2 separate regions of the Homo sapiens genome follow, and region 1 is linked to region 2. Evidence: promoter capture Hi-C in 16 types of primary human blood cells and fetal thymus (Javierre and others, 2016). All regions are on one chromosome and are shown on one strand. The core of a region is centred on a gene start or on the middle of the fragment in contact, and the rest is flanking DNA. Distances in the headings are between cores, read along the strand shown. Region 1 holds the start of BIVM-ERCC5 (BIVM-ERCC5 readthrough). Region 2 holds the start of TEX30 (testis expressed 30).

Region 1 (6,922 bases), core at 6-2,505, 35 kb before region 2:
AGAAAGAAAAGAAAAGGAAAGAGATTTGGAGATGAATAGTGATGATGGTTGCACAACAACGTAAATGTACTTAATGCCACTAAACTGTACACGTAAAAATGGTTAAGACAGTAAATTTTCTGTTATTAGACATGTATTAGTTTTTAAAAAAGAAATTAAATGGAGAAAAGACAACTTCACAATCATAGTTGAAGATTTTTAACACCCTTCTTTTGGTAATTGATAGAACAAGACACAAGTTAAGCGGAGACACAAAAGATGTGAATGACACTTTCAAACACTTCGACATAATTAATATTTATAGATACTCCCAATGACTGCAGAATGCACATTCTTTTCAAGTGCACATGGCACATTCACCAAGATAGACCATATGTTGGGTCATAAAACAAGTCTCAGTAAATTTAAAAAGACTGAGAGCATATGCCCTCTGTCCACAATGGAACTAAACTAGAAATCAATATTTAGAAAAACTATTAATATCTAGAAATTAAACAGCATACATCTAAGTAATACATGTATCAAAGAATAAATTGCAAAGGAAATTAGAAAATATTTCCAATTAAGTAATAATAATAAGCATATCAAAATTTGTGAGCTGCAGCTAAAGCAGTACTTAGCAATTTGGAGTATTCTATGCTTATGGTAGAAAAGTCTAAAATCAATGATCTAAGCTTCCATCTTAAGAAGTCAGAAAATGAAGAACAAAATAAACCCAAAGTAAGTCAGAGGAAGCAAATAATAAAGAGCAGAAACCAATGAAATAGAAAACAAACAATTGAGAAAATTAACAAAAGCTAGTTATTTGAAAAGATTAACAAAATTGATAAACTCCTAGCTAGATTGATCAGTTTTAAAAAAAATAGAGAAAATAAATTAATTACCAGTATTAGGATGCAAAAGGAGTTGTCAACAAAGATTCCTTAGATGTTAGAGGGATAACATTAACTTTAAGCCCCCAAATTTGACAACTTAAATGACATGGACAAATTAAAATTTGTCAGAAATTAACAGAAATCAAGACAACTCCATAATTATAAATACAGATTTTAATATCTCTCTGAAAATCCTCAGAAAACAGGAGGAAAAAACACTTCCCAACTTTTCTTAGAAGATTTGCATAGCCCTAATTCCAAAACTGGCCAAAGGCATTAGACAAAAAGAAAATTGCAGACTCATTACCTACAAATTTAGACAAAAAAAGCAAAATCCCCCTCCTACCCTTAAGAATTACAAATTTACCTAAAATTCTATGAAACAAATTGATTTTGCAGATAAACAAGCAGAAGCATTAAGGTTTTATAAAATCATCAGAGAAGACTAGAAGTAAATACAAATCCTAGTTTGACCTCCTCTTATTAACTCTGCAACTTCGGTCTAGAGATTTATCCCTTCTAAGCCTCAATTTCTTCACCTACAAATGGGGCTAACAGTACCTGCCTCATAAAATTCCTGTATTACTTTGAATTCAAAAGAAAGAAGTGTAAAGTATTTCTATCTGCCATAGGACCACCCCATTGCAACTGTGAAAGTTATGCACAACCTCGGTAAACAGCATCCTCTTAAATTGAGCAGTACACAACCCACTTGGTGGTACATGGAGGCTTTGCTGGGTGCCTAAAAAATTTTAACAACAAAAAAAGCTAAAACATTATATAGCAGGAAAAAAAGATGTTTGGTCAGGAAATACAACTTCATGTGCCTATAAAACTATGAAACAGTAGTAAGTTATTCTAGCCATGTTATTAACATTTCATTTTCTAAGCTACCATCTGTTTATAATATTTTACATTATTAGATTTTCAAATCTCTCAAAATATTTGATACAAAGCTTATGCTTGAAGTTTCCAGTGGAAGCCCCGCAATGAACTACATGCCCTACGTCAAGGTTACTTTCCTAAAACTACATTGACAGACAAGATGATAGCCATGTTCCTTATCTAGTATTATACAAGGAAACTATGTGTAATGGCAAGATTAAACAAGACATAGTGTTTGTTTTCTCATTATTTTCACATATGAACTTCATGGCTCCCTCCTTACCTGATTTGTGTTTCGAATTTGTGGTCACCCCATCAAATTCAGATTTATCAATTTCCCATGCGAGAGGTAGCTTGCCCAGGCTGTTGGATAAGTTTTCCAAGCTATTTTCTTCATTGTAGATAATTTCCGATGTACTAGTCGGGATACCAATGTATCTTGATGAATTATTTCCAGCAGATAAAGAGGTACTATCAGGGAGGCAAGGAGAGCGGGATGGATTTGGAGTTTTATAGATTGAGGTCGCCTGGTTGAGAAAGGCATAGTCCGAACAGATGGCATAAATTTTTTCCCGTGTATGAGTCACTGGACAACTCCATGGATAATGACCATCTCCTTTGGGACCCAAGGGTGCTCCTGAGGCACTTGTGCAGAAAGATTTTACAGCACCTTGTAGATTCTCTTCAGGTGACTTTCTCTCAGATTTGTGCTCACCATTTCCAGAATCATTTGACCTTTCTGTTTCTGCAACGTTAGGCATTGAATGCAGTGTAAAAGTTTCTATTACTAGAAACAAGTTGCAACTCTATCTGTTTCTTGATAAACAACTTTGACAATTGTTTACAGCATGCTATAAAAGCTTGAGAGCTGCAAAATGAGCTCCTAAGAGGAAGGAAAAAGAATGATCAACAATCCACCAGATACACAAAGAGCCACTAAAAAGCATAGCAAGTTTTATGCATACATATGCCTTCATTCTATATTAATTTTACAACTACTATATGACTGGAGTCACAATCACTATCTTATTTTTTAAATTAGTCTAAAATATGCATTAAATTATTTTCAAATAATTAAAAAATAATTAAAAAGCAAATAGCCCAATTTTTTTTTTTTTGAGATGGAGTTTCACTCTTGTTGCCCAGGCTGGAGTGCAATGGCACAATCTCGGCTCACCGCAACCTCCGCCTCCCGGGTTCAAGTGATTCTCCTGCCTCAGCCTCCCAAGTAGCTGGGATTACAGGCATGCGCCACCACGCCCGGCTAATTTTGTATTTTTAGTAGAGATGGGGTTTCTCCATCTTGGTCAGGCTGGTCTCAAAATCCCGACCTCAAGTGATCTGCCCACCTCTGCCTCCCAAAGTGCTGGAATTACAGATGTGAGCCACCATGCCCGGCCAGCAAATAGCCCAATTTTTAAAAATGGGCAAAGTATCTGAATAGTGTCTTCTCCAAAATCAGTACAGAAATTGCCAATAAGGCCAGGCGCAGTCACTCACACCTGTAATCCAGCACTTTGGGAGGCCAAGGCAGGTGGATCACTTGGGGTCAGGAGTTCGAGACCAGCCTGGCCAACATGGTGAAACCCCGTCCCTTCTAAAAATACAAAAATTAGCCAGGCATGGTGGCACATGCCTGTAGTCCCAGCTACTCAGGAGGCTGAGACATAAGACTCACTTGAACCTGGGAGGTAGAGGTTGCAGTGAGCCGAGATCGCGCCACTACACTCTAGCCTGGGCAACAGAGCGAGACTGTATCAAAAATAAAAATAAATGGCCAATAAGCACATGAAAAGATGCTCAGTATCATTAGCCATCATGGAAATACAAATCAAAACCACAATGAGATTAACACCTCACACACGCTAGAATGGCTATAATCAAAAATGTTGGTGAGGACGTGGAGAAATCATAACCCTCATACATTGCTAATGGAAATGTAAAATGGTCCAGTTGCTTTGGAAAACAGTTCTTCCAACAATTAAACAGAGTTACCATATGGTCCAGCAATTTCATGCCAAGGTATATATCCGTGACAGATGAAAATACATCTTCACACAAATGTTAATAGCAGCATTATTCATAATGGCCAAAAAATGGAAACAACCCAAATGTCCACCAACTGAGGAATGTATAAATAAAATGTGGTATATCCATACAATGGAATATTATTTGGCAATAAAAAGAAATGAAGTACTGACCCATGCTACAACATGGATGAACCCCGAAAACATTATAGTGAGTAAAAGAAGATCGTCACAAAGGACCAGATAGTGTATTATTCTATTTATATAACATGTCCAGAACAGGCAAATCTATGCAGACAGAAAGTAGATTCATGGTTTCCTAGGGCTTGGGGTTTGGGGGTGATGGAGTTTCTTTTTGTAATAATGATAATATTCTATAAATGATTGTGGCAATGAACACACAACTTGTAAATACCCTAAAAGCCAATGAATTGCATAACTTAATGGGTAAATTATATGGTGTGTGAATTATACCTCCATAAAGTTGTCTAAAAAATAATGTATTAGCAAGATTTTTTACGTACATAGGCATAAAGGATACATGATGAATAACGGCCACAGATTTAAATAAACACAGAATACAGAAAGTAAATTTTCCAAAGATTCATCACCTGACAGAAAAACGGATCCAATCAAGGTGTCACTAACTTCTGATCAGTTTCAGGAAAAACTGAATTTCAAGTCTAAACTGATTCCTTTAGGGAAGAAAACAGAAAGCTTAAATAGCAACTGAGGGCATGCAAGGAAGCTGAAGATTTATACCAGAGGAAGTCCTTGGTGAATTGAACCATCCCAGGACACGCAGCAGACAACCCCAGGCAGGTGCCCGGGCAGGGTATGCGGGTTTCTCAGGGCTCCAGCAACAGAGCATCAGTTGAGAGATTCAGTCCACCCTGGGTGATCAGTTGGACTTTTACCAGTTAATATCTCTGCCCATTTGCTTACTTAAAAAATTAGAAATAAAAATAACTGTCATGGGTTACCAAAAATAGTATCAAAACCATCATACAAATATTGAACAACGAAAGCCTATGAGTTAGGCTGCAAGAAATAGAAGACGATTCACACAAGAGCCCCCTAGGTTATCCTGATCTGTGAGGAGAAACTAGCAAAGGTACTGCATGGCTTTCATGGAATTTAAGGAAACAGAGCTGCATATTAGGACTCCACATATGCTAGGCAAAATTCCATTTTCTTTACTTTTAAAGCATGCTTTTTCTCTATTCAAACCTTCAGTTTTTAGGCCTGGTGTGGTGGCTCATGCCTGTAATCCCAGCACTTTGGGAGGCTGAGGCGGGTGGATCATTTGAGGTCAGGAGTTCAAGACTAGCCTGGCCAATATGGTGAAACCCCATCTCGACTGAAAATTTAAAAATTAGCCAGACAGTAAGGGCCGGGTGCAGTGGCTCACACCTGTAATCCCAGCACTGTAGGAGGCCGAGGCGGGTGGATCATGAGGTCAGAGTTCGAGACCAGCCTGGCACACAGGGTGAAACCCTGTCTCTACTAAAAAACACAAAAAAATTAGCTGGGCATGATGGCGCGCACCTGTAATCACAGCTACTTGCGAGGCTGAGGCAGGAGAACGGCCTGAACCCAGGAGGTGGAGGTTGCAGTGAGCTGAGATCCTGCCATTGCACTCCAGCCTGGGTGACAGAGTGAAACTCCATCTCAAAAAAAAGATAAAAATTAGCCAGGCGGTAGTGACGCATGCCTGTAATCCCAGCTACTCGGGAGGCTGAGGCAGAATTGCTTGAGGCTCGAAGGTGGAGGTTGCGTTGAGCCAAGATCGCGCCACTGCACTCCAGCCTGGGTGACCTGCACTCCATCTTGTCTCGAAACGAACAAACAAACAAAAAACTCTTCAGTTTTAAAATAATTTGTGCAGAGTTTATAGTTGTTTGCAAGAGGGTCAGTTGGATAGGAATATTACCACGAAAGGTGGAACCTCCTGTGGTTTCACTTTGAAAACTTTCACTTTCTTTTGGTAAAAAAAATTCTTGGAGTAGTTGTAGTGGGTCCTCAAGTGGAAGTGGTGCTCTCTCCTTATTCATCTGGTGGTGCAACGGTGATGGCAGAGGGAAGCTCAGTACCTGGCGTTGTTCAGACCAAACTCTTGTCTTTTTGGAAGACAGAGTTGCTCTGATTCTCAGCAGATGTCCTAACATAGCATTTTCTACTTCTCATCTGTGACCTTCATGCCTTTCTCTACATCAGTGTGGTGGACAGAGAGGTAGGTATTTGTGGTATTGGGGTCGTGGGGGTGGGCTGTGCGAGGTGAGGAATGAAAGAGCATATAGTCTCGGTGAGAGGCAATAGACAAAGGTTATTAGAGTGAGTTTGGTGGCGAGACGGAAATGTTCCAGGCCCTGCCCCTTTTATATCCTCATCTCAGACTTGGCTTCCACTTTCCCAGGGCTTCCTTCCTCACACTGAATGGAATTTTGCCTGTGGGACCAGCTCTCTGTGTGACAGTGTAGGGATTTGATTTGATTTTTTTAAATGGAATCTCACTCTGTTGCCCAGGCTGGAGTGCAATGGCCGGATCTCAGCTCACTGCAACCTCTGTCTCCTGGATTCAAGAGATTCTCCTGCCTCAGCCTCTGGAGTAGCTGGAATTACAGGCAGGTGCCACCATGCCTGGCTAATTTTTGTATTTTTAGTAGAGATGGGGTTTCACCACGTTGGCCAGGCTGGTCTGGAACTCCTGACCTCAGGTGATCTGCTGGCCTCGGCCCCCCAAAGTGCTGGGATTATAGGAATGAGCCACTGCACCTGGCAGGGATTGTAAAAGTATGCTCATTTGGAACATATATAGAATAACCTTTTTTTTTTTTTTTTTTAAGAAACAGGGTCTTGCTATGTTGCCTAGGCTGGTCTTGACCTCTTGGCTTCAAGCAATCCTCCCGCCTCAGCCTCCCAAATTGCTGGCATTACAGGCACAAGCCACCATGCCCAGCCATGGAGAATATTCTTATCAAAAACATAGGCAAAGGGAAATGACTGCATTTAAGCACAAAAGTTGGGGGTAAGCTTCCTGGACGCTAAAGATAGAACACAGCACTAGATTAATAAAAAGAGTAACAGTGTGAGCCAGGCACAGTGGCTCATACCTGTAATATCTATGCTTTGGGA
Region 2 (5,987 bases), core at 3,068-5,567:
AGAGGCTAGCAAGTCCAAAATCTGCAGTTAAAGTCCAAAGACCATTAGGCTGGAGACCCAGGAGAGATTAGTATTGCAGTTCAAGCCTGAAGGCGGTCTGCTGACAGAATTCCCTCTTGCTCAAGGGAGGCTAGTCTTTTGTTCTACTTACTCCTTCAGTTAACTGGATGAGGCCCCCCCCCTGCCACGTTACAGAGGGCAATCTGCTTTACTCACAGTTCACTGATTTAAATGGTAATCTTATCCCAAAACACCCTCATCAAAACATGCAGAATAATGTGTGACCACTTATCTAGGCACCCTGGATCAGCCAACTTGACACATAAAGTTAGCATTACAAATGGGAATTCGTTCAACAACTGTTGAGCACCTAATATGTGCCAGACATTGTACTGTGCTCTAAGGATACAGAAGTGAACAACTGCTGTCTATTCTGAAAAAGAATGAAATTAACAAGTAAAAACTAAACAAGATAATTATGGATTGTCATAAATAAAAATAGGGTATTATAGAGAAAAGTGGGGTAGATAGTGGTGGCTACTTTAGATTGGATCATCAAAGATGCTACAGATTTTTCAATGTCGAGTAAAATGTTTGGTATAGTTTATGATAAACAACCACTATTAAAACAATACATTTCCAATCTAATACTGACTTATTTCCTTTTTCAATAGGAAAGGCATTAAATTTTATTAAATGTTTTTAAGTCATCTATTGAAATGCTCATGTTTTATTTGGCTTTGTTTTTGCTGCATTAATCTGTAATGGATTACATTAATAGCATTCTAATTTTTGAAACATTATAAAACCCCAGGGTTTAAAAAAAAAACAAACCCAGGGTTATTACATATTATTATTTTAATACATGGCTGAATTAATTGCACTAATATTTAATTTAGGATATTTCAAACTATAGCCCACAGGCCAAATCTGAGCCACCACCAGTGTTTGTACAGCCTGCAAACTAAGAATAATCTCAACATTGCTAAGTGGCTGAAAAACATAAAAAGAAGAGTATCTCATTACATGAGAAGCATATATGAAATTCAATTTTTGGTTCATAAATAAAGCTTTTGTATTAGTTTCCTATTGTTGCTATGATAAATTACCACAAACTTATGTGGTTGAAAACAACATAAATTATTCTTTCACAGTTTTGGAGGTCAGAGTCCGAAACCAGTTTCACAGAGCTCATGTCAAGGTATTGGCAGGGCTGATTCCTTCTGGAGTCTCTGAGAGGGGAAAACTTTTCCTTGCTATTTCCAGCTTCTAGAGCTGCAGTCCTTATATTTCTTGTCTTGAGGCCCCTCTTCCATCTTCTCAGCCAGCATCTTGGCATCTTCAAATCTCTCCGCTTCTGTCGTCACATCGCCTTTTGTTTCTCTGAATGGCACAGCAGAATTATTCATAATAACCAAAAAGTATAAACAATTCAAATGTCCACCAACTGGTGAATGGATACTCAAAAATGCTGAATACTATTTGGCAATAAAAATATATGAGTTGTAACAAGGTGCAAAGTTCTGATGCATGTCACAGCATGGATAAACCTTGAAAACATTATCCTAAGTGCAAGAGGCTAGAGGCATACGACCATACAGTGTAGGACTCCATTTATATGAACTGTCCAGAAAAGGCAAATCCAGAGAGACAGAAAGTATGTTAGTGGTTGCCCGGGGTTAGGGGTAGGAACAGAGAATGGCTGTAATGCCAGTGAATCCCAAAATTGGAGCTCAGCCTGAGAGGGTTCTTGACTTTGCACAGGAAAGGATTCAAGAGCAAACTGACAGTAAAATGAAAGCAAAGCAAGTACATTAGAGCAACAAAGCACAGGAAAATTGCTTCTGGTAAACTGAGCAGGGCTACCCCACAGGCAGAGTAACACTCATGGATTGCTGGCTAGCTATATATATATATGTATCTACATATACATATATATGTATATACATACATATCATATATATGTATCTACATATACATATATATGTATATACATACATATGTGTGTATATACATATATATGTATATACACACATATATACACATATATAATATATACATACATATAATATATACATACGTATATAAACATATACATGTTATATATACATATGTGTATATATACACATATATACATATATAGTATTTATACTATATGACTATATGTATATAGTATTTATACTATATGACTATATGTATATAGTATATACATACACACATAAATACTATATATAATATTTATACTATATATGTATACATAGTATTTATACTATATATAGTACGGATATATATTATATGTGTGTATATATACACATATGTATATGTGTGTGTGTGTATGTATATATATATATATATAGAGAGAGAGAGAGAGAGAGACGGAGTCTCGCTCTGTTGCCCAGCCTGGAGTGCAGTGGTGCGCTCTTCTCGGCTTTGCAACCTCTGCCTCCAGGGTTCAAGCAATTCTCCTGCCTCAGCTCCCGAGTAGCTGGGACTACAGGTGCCTGCCACTACGCCTGAGTAATTTTTGTGTTTTTGGTAGATGCCGGGTTTCACCGTGTTGGCCAGGCTGGTCTCCAACTCCTGACCTCAGGTGATCCACCCGCCTTGGTCTCCCAAAGTGCTGGGATTACAGGCATGCGCCAGGGCACCCGGCCACTGGCTAGCTATATTTATACCTACTCCTTCATCGTACGCTAAATAAGGGGTGGGTTATTCACGAATTTTCTAGAAAAGGGGTGGGGAGTTCCCCGGAACTGAGAATTCTTCCGTTTTTAAACCATATAAGGTAAGGTCTGGGCATTGCCATGGCATTCGTAAACTGTCAGAGTGCTGGTGGAAGTGTTGTAGCATGTTCATGTATTATAATTAGTGTATAATGAGCAGTGAGGGCACTAGAGGTCACTTTGGTCACCATCCTGGTTTTAGCTGGCTTGGGCCTGTTTCTTTAGGGCAGTTTTGGCCGTTTTTTTAGGGCATCCTGTTCTGACCAGATCCTGTTTTGCTCAGCAGGTGGTGATCAGTGCTTGGAAAGTCCTGCTGATCTCCTACCTCAACTATAACTGTGCAAATACTTTTCAGGGGGATAATGGAAATGTTCTTAAATTATAGTGATGGTTGCAAATGGTTTTAAAATTACTGAAAATGATTGAATGGTACACTTCAAATGAGTGAATTTTATGGCATGTAAAGAAATGTTTTTTAAAAACACAGCTAAAAAATTAGGAGACAAAGAAGTATTAAGACTTTGTAATTTGGGGAAACACTTGTGATAAATGACAGCGACTATGTGGTTTTGTGGAATGTATTTCCTTGTATGTACCGTGACAGAAAAGAGGGCAGGTGCCAACTGCACTGGGCTTGGGGAAGATTCATTCATTTAAGAAATTTTTTTTTTTCTGAGCATTATTCATACACAAGAGGTTCACGGTTAAAACAAAAATTTACAAAAAGCAACCCTTTCTTCACCTGGGAGCTTATAGCGCAGTGAGGAGACACAGATACATCCATAGCTCGTGAGGTGACCGGGGAAGGACAGGAAGAGCGGGGAGGTGATCAGGGGAGGCCTCGCTGTGAAAACCACGCGCCCTGTCGACCCCGAGGAGACGCGGCCCACGCTGGGAGGGAGCAGCCAGGACAAAAGCCGGTCGTCGTGGGGTCCCGCCTGGTGAGTGGGGGTGAGGACAGCGAAGTGTGGGCTGCCCTGGGCTTCCAGGGAAAGGAGCCAGATGGAGAGGGGAGATGTGGGGGACCGATCGCGTGCAACAGCCTAGGCCACTGCCGGCCGCTGGCTGTGGCAATGAGCGCGGAGCCTTTGGAAGATCCAGGGGACAGGCTTCCACAGCATCCACGTGGCTGCGGCGTCGCCGACAAGGCCCAGGCGGGGGCAAGATGGTACGAAGCGACCATTTAAGTGATTGTTACAATCATCCCCGCAAAGATAACAGGGGGCTTGACCCCATGTAGAAGTGTGCGAAGCGGCTGGTTTCTGTCAGCGTTTGACCTTAACGGGAGTAACGAATCGACTATGGGTGTGAGGAAGACTGGTCAGAGCTGATCGCGCCTCGGAATGGAGTGGTGGCTGGGATGCGGAAAGGCCCCGAGTGGAGCAATCCTGGGTGAGGCGGAAACGGGGGCTGACTTTCCAGCCGTCCGCGTGCTACTGAGGCGGCGGCCACCCTGGCACCTTCCCCTAGCTCCGCTAGTCCGCGCGTACAGCCCTGGGATGTGGCGGGCTGGGAGACCCACGCTCCCGGCGTGCTCTGCGGCCCGGCCCGCGCACCCGGGGGGCGTGGCCTGCGCGCGCGTGCGTCGTAGCCGAACGCTGTGGCGGGGCAGGCGAGGCGGTCGCTTCGAGCGCGCTAGTCAGCTCCCTGAAGGGAGTGACGGCGGTTGGGTGCCCGCGGCCACTTTTGCCTTCCCGGGTAAGTGCGGCGGTGGCGGTTGGCGCCGCCGGCTGACGGGCGGCTTCCTGGGAGACGGGGAGAGCACCCGGCAGGCCCGCCTGAGACGTTTGAGGCTCGCGGGCGTCACTCCTCAGGGGCGTCTGGTCCGAGCCGGGAGGCGTTCCGCTAAGTTCGGTGCCCGCGGGCACCAGCCGGTGGGGGCTTCGTCCGCTTTGCCGGGTAGGAGGGCGGAATGTGGGGTTGGTACGGGCGGGGAGAGCCGGACGGGGCCAACCTGGACCACGTCAGCCAGTCCCGGGTGACTGGCTCGAAGTAGCCTCGGAGTTGAGAGGGGTCGACCGGGGCAGCCCGCGGCGCAGCCCCGGCAGCGCGCATTTGCGGAGAGAACGGATCCCGTGCCCCGAGCGCCGCCGAGCCCCGCACGCCCGTGAGACCCGCTTTGAATTTTCTCTCCATGTTTGCTGGGGTTGTTGACCCGACCCCCCGTAAGACTCGGACTCAACGTTTTTGTTTGCCCCACGACAGCCAGCTTAATGCTGTGGACGTAACAGGGCACGAACGTTTGTAACTGAAAGTTGAAGGGGCTGTGGCGTCTCCGTCCCGTGGCGTGGGAGGTGATCGCCCAGCCCTTGTGAGTAGTTGTCGTCCTAGAACTCCGCCGACCGCCTAGCCGGTGGAGCCGGCGCTCCGGACGCCACTAGAGCTGGCGTTTCGTGGGCGCAGCACCTCTAGCCGGTCATCTTCACCATCGCCATTGAGGGCACTGAGGCCGGGCCAGGCTTCAAACCCTGCCCTCTCTGAACCTGAAGCCAGAGATGAAAACCCAGACGACAGTGGCCTGGCACGGTGGCTCACGCCTGACCCCAGCACCATGGGAGGCCGAGGCGGGTGGATCACCTGAGGTCAGGAGTTCAAAACCAGCCTGGCCAACATGGTGAAACCCCGTCTCTACTAAAATTAGCTGGGCGCGGTGGCGGACGCCTGTAATCTCAGCTACTCGGGAGGCTGAGGCTGGAGAATCTCTTGAACCCGGGAGGCAGAGGCTGCAGTGAGCCGAGATCGCGCCGCTGCACTCCTGCCTGGGGGACAGAGCAAGACTCTGTCTCAAAAAAACAAACCCAGATGACCTAGAGCAGGTTGCTTGGGGATTGCATTATGGGGCATTTTCCGTGTTTCTGAAGAAAACCAGCATGTGTGCAGCTGCCGTGAAGAACACACTGTGCATCGTGAAGTCTGAAAAGAAGTAAAGCAGACCGGGAGAGGTGGCAAACGCCTTGGGATCCCAACGGTTTGGGAGGCCAAGGCAGGGGGTATCGCTTGAGCCCGGGAGTTCAAGACCAGCCTGCGAAACATAGGGAGACCCTCGTCTCTACAAAAACATTTAAAAATAATAAGCGGGCGTGGTGGTGAGCGTCTGTAGTCCCACCTACTCAAGAGGCTGAGGCGAGAGGATCGCTTGAGCTCAGGAGTTCGAGGATTCAGTGAGCTTATGATTGCGCCACTCAATTTTCCGGCCTGTCCGCCGGAGCGAGAACCTGTCTCAAAAAAAAAAAAAATAGGGAAGCATTCTAAATTAAGATAGTG

What was found. Contacts are between HindIII fragments. The CHiCAGO score rates a contact against its expected background, and 5 or more counts as called.
Region 1: a contact is called between a fragment that was not itself captured here and the fragment with the promoter of TEX30 in region 2, in 1 of 17 cell types (fetal thymus). The highest score is 5.4, in fetal thymus.

What each region holds. Positions count from the first base shown.
Region 1 is chr13:102,802,867-102,809,788 of GRCh38, reverse strand. It overlaps BIVM (basic, immunoglobulin-like variable motif containing), which reads right to left. Exons shown (of 11, transcript NM_017693.4): 2 at 4,399-4,482; 3 at 2,044-2,643. The coding sequence starts at 2,521. BIVM-ERCC5 (BIVM-ERCC5 readthrough) reads right to left here and starts at 2,643. Exons shown (of 23, transcript NM_001204425.2): 1 at 2,044-2,643. The coding sequence starts at 2,521. The HindIII fragment of the contact is 1,157 bases long and covers 677-1,833 here.
Region 2 is chr13:102,772,116-102,778,102 of GRCh38, reverse strand. TEX30 (testis expressed 30) reads left to right here and starts at 4,317. Exons shown (of 6, transcript NM_138779.5): 1 at 4,317-4,421. RefSeq lists enhancers at 3,207-3,884, 3,885-4,562 and a silencer at 4,145-4,484. The HindIII fragment of the contact is 5,388 bases long and covers 1,073-5,987 here.